Regions from separate parts of the Homo sapiens genome. Here region 1 is linked to region 2. Evidence: promoter capture Hi-C in 16 types of primary human blood cells and fetal thymus (Javierre and others, 2016). All regions are on one chromosome and are shown on one strand. Each heading gives the region's core, a stretch centred on a gene start or on the middle of the fragment in contact. The rest is flanking DNA. Distances are from core to core; before and after follow the strand shown.

Region 1 (4,194 bases), core at 1,220-3,719, 210 kb after region 2:
TTCCCACCCCGCCTTTCCCAGCACATCCGGGACTTCCTGAAATACAGGATCCGTGCTCTGGCCCTGAGCTCTACTGAGAGACTGAATCAACACCCATCTGAGCATTTGCGGTTGCCACAGGTGCCAAGGAACCCCTTCTTGAGTTGCCAAGGCCCCAGGACACGTCTGGTTTCTCTGACCCTCCCCACCCTCACCACGCTACCCTCCTGGGGTCAGAGTTGGAGTCCTGGGTGCACTGTGGCTAGTGGCTGCCTGAAGGCCTCTGGAGCACTTGGCCCCTTTGTGGTCAAAGCTGCCCAGCCGTCCAGGGCGGGTGCCCGCATCCCCTCCGTCAGCAGCGGCTCTCCTCTCTCTCCCACAGGTCCAGCTTCCCGGGGACCTTTGCTTGTCCACAGTTCCCTGGTGTACTCCACATGCTCCTGTGTGCCTGGCATCGTGCCTGGCTCTAGGGTACACTGAGGAGTGTGACACCGTTCCAGCCATAGGGAGCTCACCATGTCATTCACCACCTGCCAGAAGGGCCAAGGGGCAAGGATGGGGCCTGGCCCATCAGAGGCTCTGACCTCAGCTGGGGCACAGGTGGAGAGAGTGGGGTCCCTTGGGGCAACCAGCTGGATTCAGCTCAGGAACTGGTGGGAGCCAGGAGGCCAGAGCCAGCGAAGGACAGGACAGGGTGTCAGCCAGGTGGAATCCCCTGCTGAAGAGAGGAAAGGGGGGACATGGTCTTGTGCTCTTGGTGTTGACAGCAGTGGAGAGGGGGCTTTAGGGGCAAAGGAGGATGCAAAGCCTGGGGGCCGCTCCCGAGGGAGAAGGGCCCTGCTCTGTGGCCACTGGAGGGAGCAGCTTGGGGGCTGAGAAGCCGAGCCCCTCCCATGGCTCAGAGCCCCTGGGCACTTTGGGTAGATTGGGGTGTGGTTGGGGGTCTCCTGGGCGAATTCAGAACACCGGGAGGTTCCTGGGAAGGAGGAGCTGGGACACTGAAGGTGTCATCAAATCACAGATGTTGAAGCCAAGGCCCAGAACAGGCAGATGAGCTCCCTGGGCCACTGCGGCCGAGGGTGAGGGGTAGGACCCCAGCTGCCCTGCAGCAGCGTCCACCTCCCCCAGGCCAGAGTCCTGTGGAGATGGAGGAGTGTGGCACACGGCTGTGTGTGGGGACCTAGGCAGGCCGTGGGTGAGGGCCCAGGACAAATGGGGCCTTGAACCTGAATGGCTGCCCTCGGGGAGGGGGACACGTGCTCTAAGCAACTCCAGGGAACAGGAGTGGGCCAGCTTGGAGGAGGGATATCTGTCTCTCGCTTGACCGTGGGCTACCCTGTGAGGTGGTGAGCTCCCTGTCCTGGGAGGCATGGAAGCAGAGACCCGCTCACTGGGCTGCAGCCCCTCATAGGGGCTTCCAAGCACCAGGAAGTGAGTGGCTGTTGCCCCCTGCCCCACCCCTCCTGGGATCCTGGTTCTGCCCACAGCTCTGACTCAGATGCAGCTCCCCGGGGGGTGAGAGGCCCACGTGCGGTGGCTACAGGGGCAGCATCTCCACGACGCCCCTGTGGGGCCATCTCCATGTTCACTGTTTGCAGACACCCCTGTGGCTGAGCACCCGATGCACTCGGCCAGCTGGCAGGGCCAAGGGTCGATGGGGCGGCTCCCTGCTGGTTGGGACTTGCACGGCCCTGAGCAGGGGAGGGGGGCGGGGCTGGCAGGGTACCTGGTGCAGGTGCTGGAGGGGGATGGTGGGGCGAGTTTCTCCACCTGGGTGAGGTGGAGCCACGGAGACTGCTTTTCTCCAGAACCAGACGAGCTCCAGCTCCCAGGCTAGGTGGGTGCCAGCTCCTCTCAGGTTGGAGGCTGGGCAGGGTGGGGTGGGGTGGGGTGGGGACTGGTAGCCCAGGGGTCCAGGGCCCAGATGGCTGGATGCACAGCTGGGGCAGAGGCAGGAGCCATGCCAGGACTGCAGCCTGTAAGCCGGGCACAGGTGTCTGAGGGGAACATTGCAGAGACGCAGCCTCCAGGTTCCCAGCCTTCCAGGCAGCCTTAGAGAGTCGGGGGCTCCCCCACAGCGGGGTCTGGGCAGCCACCGCCCTGCCTCCCCTTCCTCACTGAGCCACGGGGTGCCTTGTGTTCCCTCCAACCTGGCAGGGAGGCTGGGGCAGGGGGGCCTGATCCAGATACCCGGCCCCTGGGCTGTGGGGAGGAGGGTGGAAGGAGGCCCATCAGCAACACACAGAGGCTCCCATCCCAGGGACGGCACAGTCCAGCGGCAATATTTCTCCAGGGACCCCAAGCCTGGCTGGGACAGGGGCCGTGCCTTGGGCCTAAGATGAGAGAGCTCTTCTGAAGGGAGGGAGGAGGGTGGTAACCAAACCCAGCCCCCGCCTGCCCTGCATGGCCCCTGTGACATTCCCAATTGCTGGGGACTGACTCACCCCCACTTCAAAGGCCTTAAATAGTTCAGCTATTTCACCTGCCACACTGTGCTGTCACTCTGGAATTCTGCTGTGTGGGAGCTGAGGCCCCACCTGCAGACCTGCTGCTCACCTGGGCAGGTGCCTCCTCACAGCCCATCTGCACAGCTGGCCTGCGGAGTCCTCCTCAGGGGCCACTGGCCCTCACCTGCCACTGTTGAAGGGATGCCTGCCCCTGCTCTCCCCACCTCAGCCATGGCCGTGCAGGTGCCCCTGTGGCACCACTACCTGCAGGCCATCCGGTCCCGGGAGGCGCCGCGTGCCCAGGACTTCCAGCGCGCAGAGAACGTGCTGCTCACGGTGCTGGAGCGCGTGCATGCCCTGGACCCCCGCTTCATCGTGGACTACTCCCGTGGCCTGGAGGCCTTCCAGTTCGCCCTGCGCTCCTCTGAGGACCCAATGGACATGGAGGTGCCCCTGTGGGTGGATGCCGAGGCTCTACTGATTGAGGAACCAGAGGCCACCCAGCCGGAGGATGGCCTTGAATTATGCCACCTGGGTGTGCCCAGGGAAGGGGCTGGCCTGGAGCGGTGGACCACCGAGGATACCTTCACTGCCTCCTCGGAGGGTGACGCCAAGTGCCGTGGACACATTGTGCCCAGCAAGGTCCTGTGTGTCCTCAAGGACCTGCTGGTAGCAGCCATCGTACACTGCAAGCACCACAGTCTCATCGCACCAGGTACAGGCACAGCCCACTCTGCACGCGTATCTGCGTGTACCGAGGGGCTGCTGTGTGGGTGTCTGTGTGCAAGTGTGTGAGTGCACATGTGTGTGATTGCCATGTACGTGCACACAGGGTGGCGACTGTCTTCTGTGTGTGACTGCACGCACAGGCATGTGTGCACGTGTGTGACACTGTGCAAGTGTGAACAGTGTGTTGGGGCACAGAAGTCGGGAGACCTCACTTAGGTCTTCCAGCTCCAAATGCCTGTAACAAGACAGATGACGTGTTCCGTGTCGTGTGTGTTTGCACGGGGGTTCCACGGCTGCCAGTCGTCCAGTGGCTGGAGTCTGGGGCAGCTGCTTCACTGGTGGCCTTGCAGGAGGGTCCCTCACACGGCTCTGGGCAGGCGGCTCTCTTGCCAGTCACAGCCTGTGACCTCGAGGCTCCCCGAGGCCATCCCGTGCCCACTTCCAGTGTCTGATGATGTTGCACCAGGTGGGAGGGGTGTGTGTGTGCCTGCCTGCGTGCGCGTGAGTGCAGGGGTGTGAATGCGTGTGCAGGTGTGTGCCCGTGTCTTATCAGCTTATGGCTGAGTTGTCTATTGGTGTCTTGAGCCCCAAGTGGGCTCTGAGGCTGGGCTTCTGCGTGGACCAGGGGCTGGCCTCAGTCTCTCCTCTGGGGCCTTTTGTTTGTTTGTTTGTGAGACTGAGTCTCACTCTGTCACCCAGGCTGGAGTGCAATGGCACGATCTTGGCTCACTCCGCCTCCTGGGTTCAAGCGATTCTCCTGCCTCAGAATCCTGAGTAGCTGGGATTACAGGCATGGGCTACCACGCCTAGCTAATTTTTGTATTTTTAGTAGAGACAGGGTTTCACCATGTTGGCCAGGCTGGTCTCGAACTTCTGACTTCAGATGATCCGCCCACCTGGGCCTCTCAAAGTGCTGGGATTACAGGTGTGAGCCACAGCACCAGGCCCACCTTTGGGGCCTTGTTGATATGGTCCAGGGTGAGTCTGAGCCCAGGGCTCCTTCAGCAGGGGCTGCCTGGACGGCGACGGTCGCTGGGAG
Region 2 (4,818 bases), core at 2,319-4,818:
CTGCTGTCAAACACGTGGCTGGCTCACTGCCAGCAGTCCCCAAATATCCCATGGCCAGCCAGCTCCCACCTCTGTCCACATGAGGGGCTTCCTGGCCCAGCCCCCACCTCTGGTCTGTGTGAGGGGCTCCAGCCCTGTATTCCTCCGAGCTGCTCAGGTTCCAGGGTGTTTGTCAGATACTCAACTGGCTGCTTCCCTCCCTTAGACTCCAGTCCATCCCCCTCAGACAGACTTGGCTAGGTCAAGTACTTAGGATTGTTTTATTTCATGTCTGTGTTAGAGAGGAGGGAATAGCTAGAGGTGAGAGCAGAACCTTTCATTTTTTTCCCCTGCTGAGACAGTAGGAAAAAAACCAAAAACCTAAACCCCTACCCTTTTCCCACATGTCATCACTTGCAGACGGTTTTTCCACATTCTGAGACTCCTGCCCAGAACCCTCTGGAAGCTGCCTGGGAGCCAGGCTGCCTCCTGCGTGGTTCTGAGCTATTTCTAGTGGTTATTTAGGAGGCACTCAACTGTTTTGGGATGATCAGAGTTAATTTTAGTCCCATCTAGTAGGATATGGGCTATTGCCATCCCTTTCTTCAGAAAGTGCTGCCTGAGCCTCGCTGCCACCACAAGTGACTGATGGAGTTGGTGGGGGAGGACCCTCCTCTATCAGGGACATTCAAGGTACAAGGGTTTTACAGGTGTGTATTAAAGTCAGTGATGTTCACTCTTCAGAATTCAAAGAGTTTTCTGATGTTTTAAGAACCCCTACCTTGTAGTGTTTATGGTGCTTATAACACAGAGGATGTTATAGAATGGTGTTTGTTTGTTTGTTTATTTATTTAGAGACAGAGTCTTATACTGTCGCCTGGGCTGGAGTGCAATGGTGCGATCTCAGCTCACTGCAACCTCCGCCTCCCAGGTTCAAGCAATTCTGCCTCAGCCTCCCAAGTAGCTGGGATTACAGGTGCCCACCACCACGCCTGGCTAAATTTTTGTATTTTTAGTAGAGACGAGGTTTCACTATGTTGGCCAGGCTGGTCTCAAACTCCTGACCTCATGATCCGCCCGCCTCGGCCTCCCAAAATGTTGGGATTACAGGCATGAGCCACTGCGTTCGGCCACAATGGTGTTTGCAGACAGGTGTTTAATGGGTTGAGAATGCATAGTCTGAGCTTTCTAAGAACTGTTACTTCTTTATAAGAAAAAATAATTAAAGCTCATCTGACTTCATGGCAGTGGAAGGTCTGGTATTTTGCAAACGTTCTTTGCAGAAAGAACCCAGAGAGGAAAGTTCTGAGGCTGAGGCTGACAATTTTTCCACTCCATTTTTTTTTTTTTTTTTAAGATGGAATCTTGCTCTGTCACCCAGGCTGGAGTGCAATGGTGCAATCTCGGCTCACTGCAACCTCCGTTCCCTGGGTTCAAGCAATTCTCCTGCCTCAGCCTCCCGAGTAGCTGGGATTACAAGTGTGCGTTATCACGTTACCTGGCTAATTTTTGTATTTTTAGTAGAGGCAGGGTTTCACTATATTGGCCAGGCTGGTCTCGAACTCCTGACCTCAGGTGATCCACCCATCTCAGCCTCTCAAAGTGCTGGGATTACAAGCATGAGCCACCGTGCCCAACCCACTGCATATTTTTAAAGTATGGTTCGAGAGAGCAAAGTTTTCACACAAGACTGAAGGTGATGTCAAATTTTTTTTTTTTTTTTTTGAGAAGTACTTTCGCTTTTGTTGCCCAGGCTGCAGTACAATGGCGTGATCTTGGCTCACTGCAACCTCCGCCTCCCAGGTTCAAGTGATTCTCCTGCCTCAGCCTCCTGAGTAGCTGACACTACAGGTGCCCACCACCATGCCTGGCTAATTTTTGTATTTTTAGTAGAGATGGGGTTTCACCATGTTTTCCAGGCTGGTCTCAAACCCCTGACCTCAGGTGATCTGCCCACCTCGGCCTCCCAAAGTGCTGGGATTACAGGCGTGAGCCACCACACCCGGGCTCATGTCAATTTTTCATAGTAATCCCCATGTCCCAGCTGTCATTTTATTTCTAGAGCTAGACAAACTGTTCAGGTTCCTTGATTCTTTCCAGGGAGTTGGGGTGGCTCATGGGATTTTCTTAGGCTTTTGGTGTAGCATTAACACAATTTATTGTGAGATGTTGACAGTTGAGTATTTTGAGAAGAAAATTACATTATAAAAAACAACAAAGGCAACCAATTTTTTTTTTCCTTTTGTTTTTTGAGACAAGGTCTTGCTCTGTTACGCAGGCTGGAGTGCAGTGGTGCAATCATGGCTCACTGCAGCCTCAACCTCCTGGACTCAAGTGATCCTCCCACTTCAGGCTCCTGAGTAGCTGGGACTACAGGTGCACGCCACTACTCCCGGCTAATTTTTTATTTTTTGTAGAGACAGGATTTTCCTATGTTGCTCAGGTTGGTCTTGAACTCCTGAGCCCAGGCAATCCCCCCCACCTCAGCCTCTCACAGTGCTGGGATTACAGGCGTGGGCCACTGCACTCTGCCAAAGCAACCAATTCTTTAGTTTCTACACGGATTAGAACCTTCCTTTTCTTTGACATAATCCTTTTGTCAAAAGACAGTTTTACATAAATTGTTTGGCACCCCACTCCATGCCTGGCGCAAAGCAGATATGTAAATGTGTGCCCATGCAAGAATCAAATCCTTTATGTCAGTCCAGAATGAAGTAGATAAAACAAGAAATGCTTATAAATTAAGGCTTTGGTGGCAGGATTTAGGCAGCTGAGAAAGCACACCTTTTTATTCTTCACAAGCATCACCTTGTGAAAGATGCCTACGCTCTTAGGTCGAGAGAGGAAATTTAAGAATGAATACACATTGGGCTAAAACTTTACTATATTTCATCCTAAGAGGGAACCAGACCTCGAAGTTGGGAAGGCTCTTGCTTATAAAGGGAAATGTGCCGTAATTCCTGTCATTTTACTTGGGTCTTTTAAAAACGGCAAATTCTCATCTTCCACTGGCTGAGAGTAAAAAGAAAGAAAAGCGGTAAAGACTTCTTTTTGTGCGTAGGTGGCCCCGGTGTTCACGCTGAATACAGATTTTTACACAATAAAATCTTAAATATCTCTACATGGAACGGAATCCATTTTTCCTGCCTCGGGAAGGATTTCTGCGCTCTCGGGTGAAGTTCCCGAAGCAAGGAACCAGTTCCCCTCTACCTGTACTCTTGAGAGGAATTCTCAGGTCATCTGAAACACAAGTATGGGCCAGGACGACCCATTCGTTCACGCGGCCCAGAGCTCTGCGAAACGGGACACGGCAGTGCAACGGGAACAACCGGACACCGAGGCCCCCGAAGGCTGAGGCCGCGGCAGAGGCGGCGGCACGGTGACGGGCGCGACTCCGGCCTTCCGGCTTTCTAAGGGGCGGCCCCGGGACACCTGAGCCCCGCGGGGCCGTGAACGCTCAGCACAGCTCCGGGCCGGAATCACGATCCACCACACCGCGCTGGCGCTGGGAACGGCGTCGGTGACGGACCGGGGGCCGGAAGTGAAGGACGGGGGAGGACCGCTGCTTCCGGCGCCGTAACTGCTGCCATCTTCTCCGCGCTATGGCTGCGTTCGGCCGTCAGGTAAGCTCGAGCTGGGCGCGCGGGCTTCTCCGGGTCGCAGGCGGGCGGGCAGCGACGCAGAGGAACCGCGGCCGCCGAGTGTTTCACGGCCAGGTCGTGGAGCCCTCCCGGAGGTCCGTGCACGCTGACCTGGTTTTGGCATCCTGGACCCGTGGCTCTGCTCAATTATTGTGGGATATAGAGTTGACATTTTTTTTTTTTGAGACAAAGTCTCGCTCTGTCTCCAGGCTGGAGTGCAATGGCGCGATCTCGGCTCACTGCAACCTCCGCCTCCCGGGTTCAAGCAATTCTACTGCTTCAGCCTCCCAAGTAGCTGGGATTACAGGCGCCCGCCACCATGCCTGGCTAATTTTTGTATTTTTAGTAGAGACGGGGTTTCACCGTGTTGGCCAGTCTGGTCTGTAACTTCTGGCCTCAGGTGATCCACCCGCCTCGAACTCCCAAAGTGCTGGGATTACAGGCGTGAGCCACCGCGCCCGGCCTGAGTTGACTGTTGAACAAGAGTTTGAACTTCACAAGGAAGATAACATGTACTTTTCATTAAGAGGAAGCGGAATCAGCATAGAGGTCTTTAGGCTTGAGCCCAGTTCCACGGGCCGCGCCCGCTGACCCCAGCGACTGCCAGGTGTTCCTGGCGGAGGGAGCATCTGGACAGGGGAGGCTGGAGAGCAGCCAGAGCTTGGGCTTGGCAGGGTGGCCCCAGGGCGACAATCGATGACGCTGGAGAAGGGGTTGGGACCGATGTGAAGGTTTTAGAGCAGGGGTTCCCCAACCCCCGGTACCGTCCCTTGCCTATTAGGAACCAGGCTGCACAGCAGGAGGTGAGCGGCAAGTGAGCCAGCCAGACTGTATTTACAGCCGCTCCCTTCGCTGGCATTACCGCCTGAGCTCCGCCTCCTGTCAGACCAGCCGCCTTAGATTCTCACTGGAGCGCGAACCCTATTGTGAACTGCGCCTTTGAGGGGTCCAGGTTGCGCTCCTTATGAGAATCTGATGCCCGATGATCTGTCACTGTTTCCCATCAACCCCAGATGGCACCTCCTGGTTGTAGGAAAACAAGCTCAGGGCTCCCAGTGATTCTACATTATGGTGAGTTGTATAATTATTTCATCTTATATTACAACGTGAAAATAACAGAAATAAAGTGCACAACAAATGTAATATGCTTGAATCATCCTGAAACCCCTCACCAGTCTGTGGAAAAATTGTCTTCCAT

What was found. The method cuts DNA at HindIII sites, captures the fragments that hold promoters and counts their contacts. A CHiCAGO score of 5 or more calls a contact.
Region 1: a contact is called between the fragment with the promoter of MAB21L4 here and the fragment with the promoter of MTERF4 in region 2, in 4 of 17 cell types (M2 macrophages, endothelial precursors, M0 macrophages and 1 more). The highest score is 9.3, in M2 macrophages.

What each region holds. Positions count from the first base shown.
Region 1 is chr2:240,894,431-240,898,624 of GRCh38, reverse strand. MAB21L4 (mab-21 like 4) reads left to right here and starts at 2,469. Exons shown (of 5, transcript NM_001085437.3): 1 at 2,469-3,141. The coding sequence starts at 2,628. RefSeq lists enhancers at 1,298-1,933, 3,206-3,841. The HindIII fragment of the contact is 9,523 bases long and covers 1-4,194 here.
Region 2 is chr2:241,101,037-241,105,854 of GRCh38, reverse strand. It overlaps MTERF4 (mitochondrial transcription termination factor 4), which reads left to right and starts at 3,568. Exons shown (of 4, transcript NM_182501.4): 1 at 3,568-3,602. The coding sequence starts at 3,582. RefSeq lists enhancers at 3,242-3,781, 3,782-4,321. The HindIII fragment of the contact is 6,512 bases long and covers 1-4,818 here.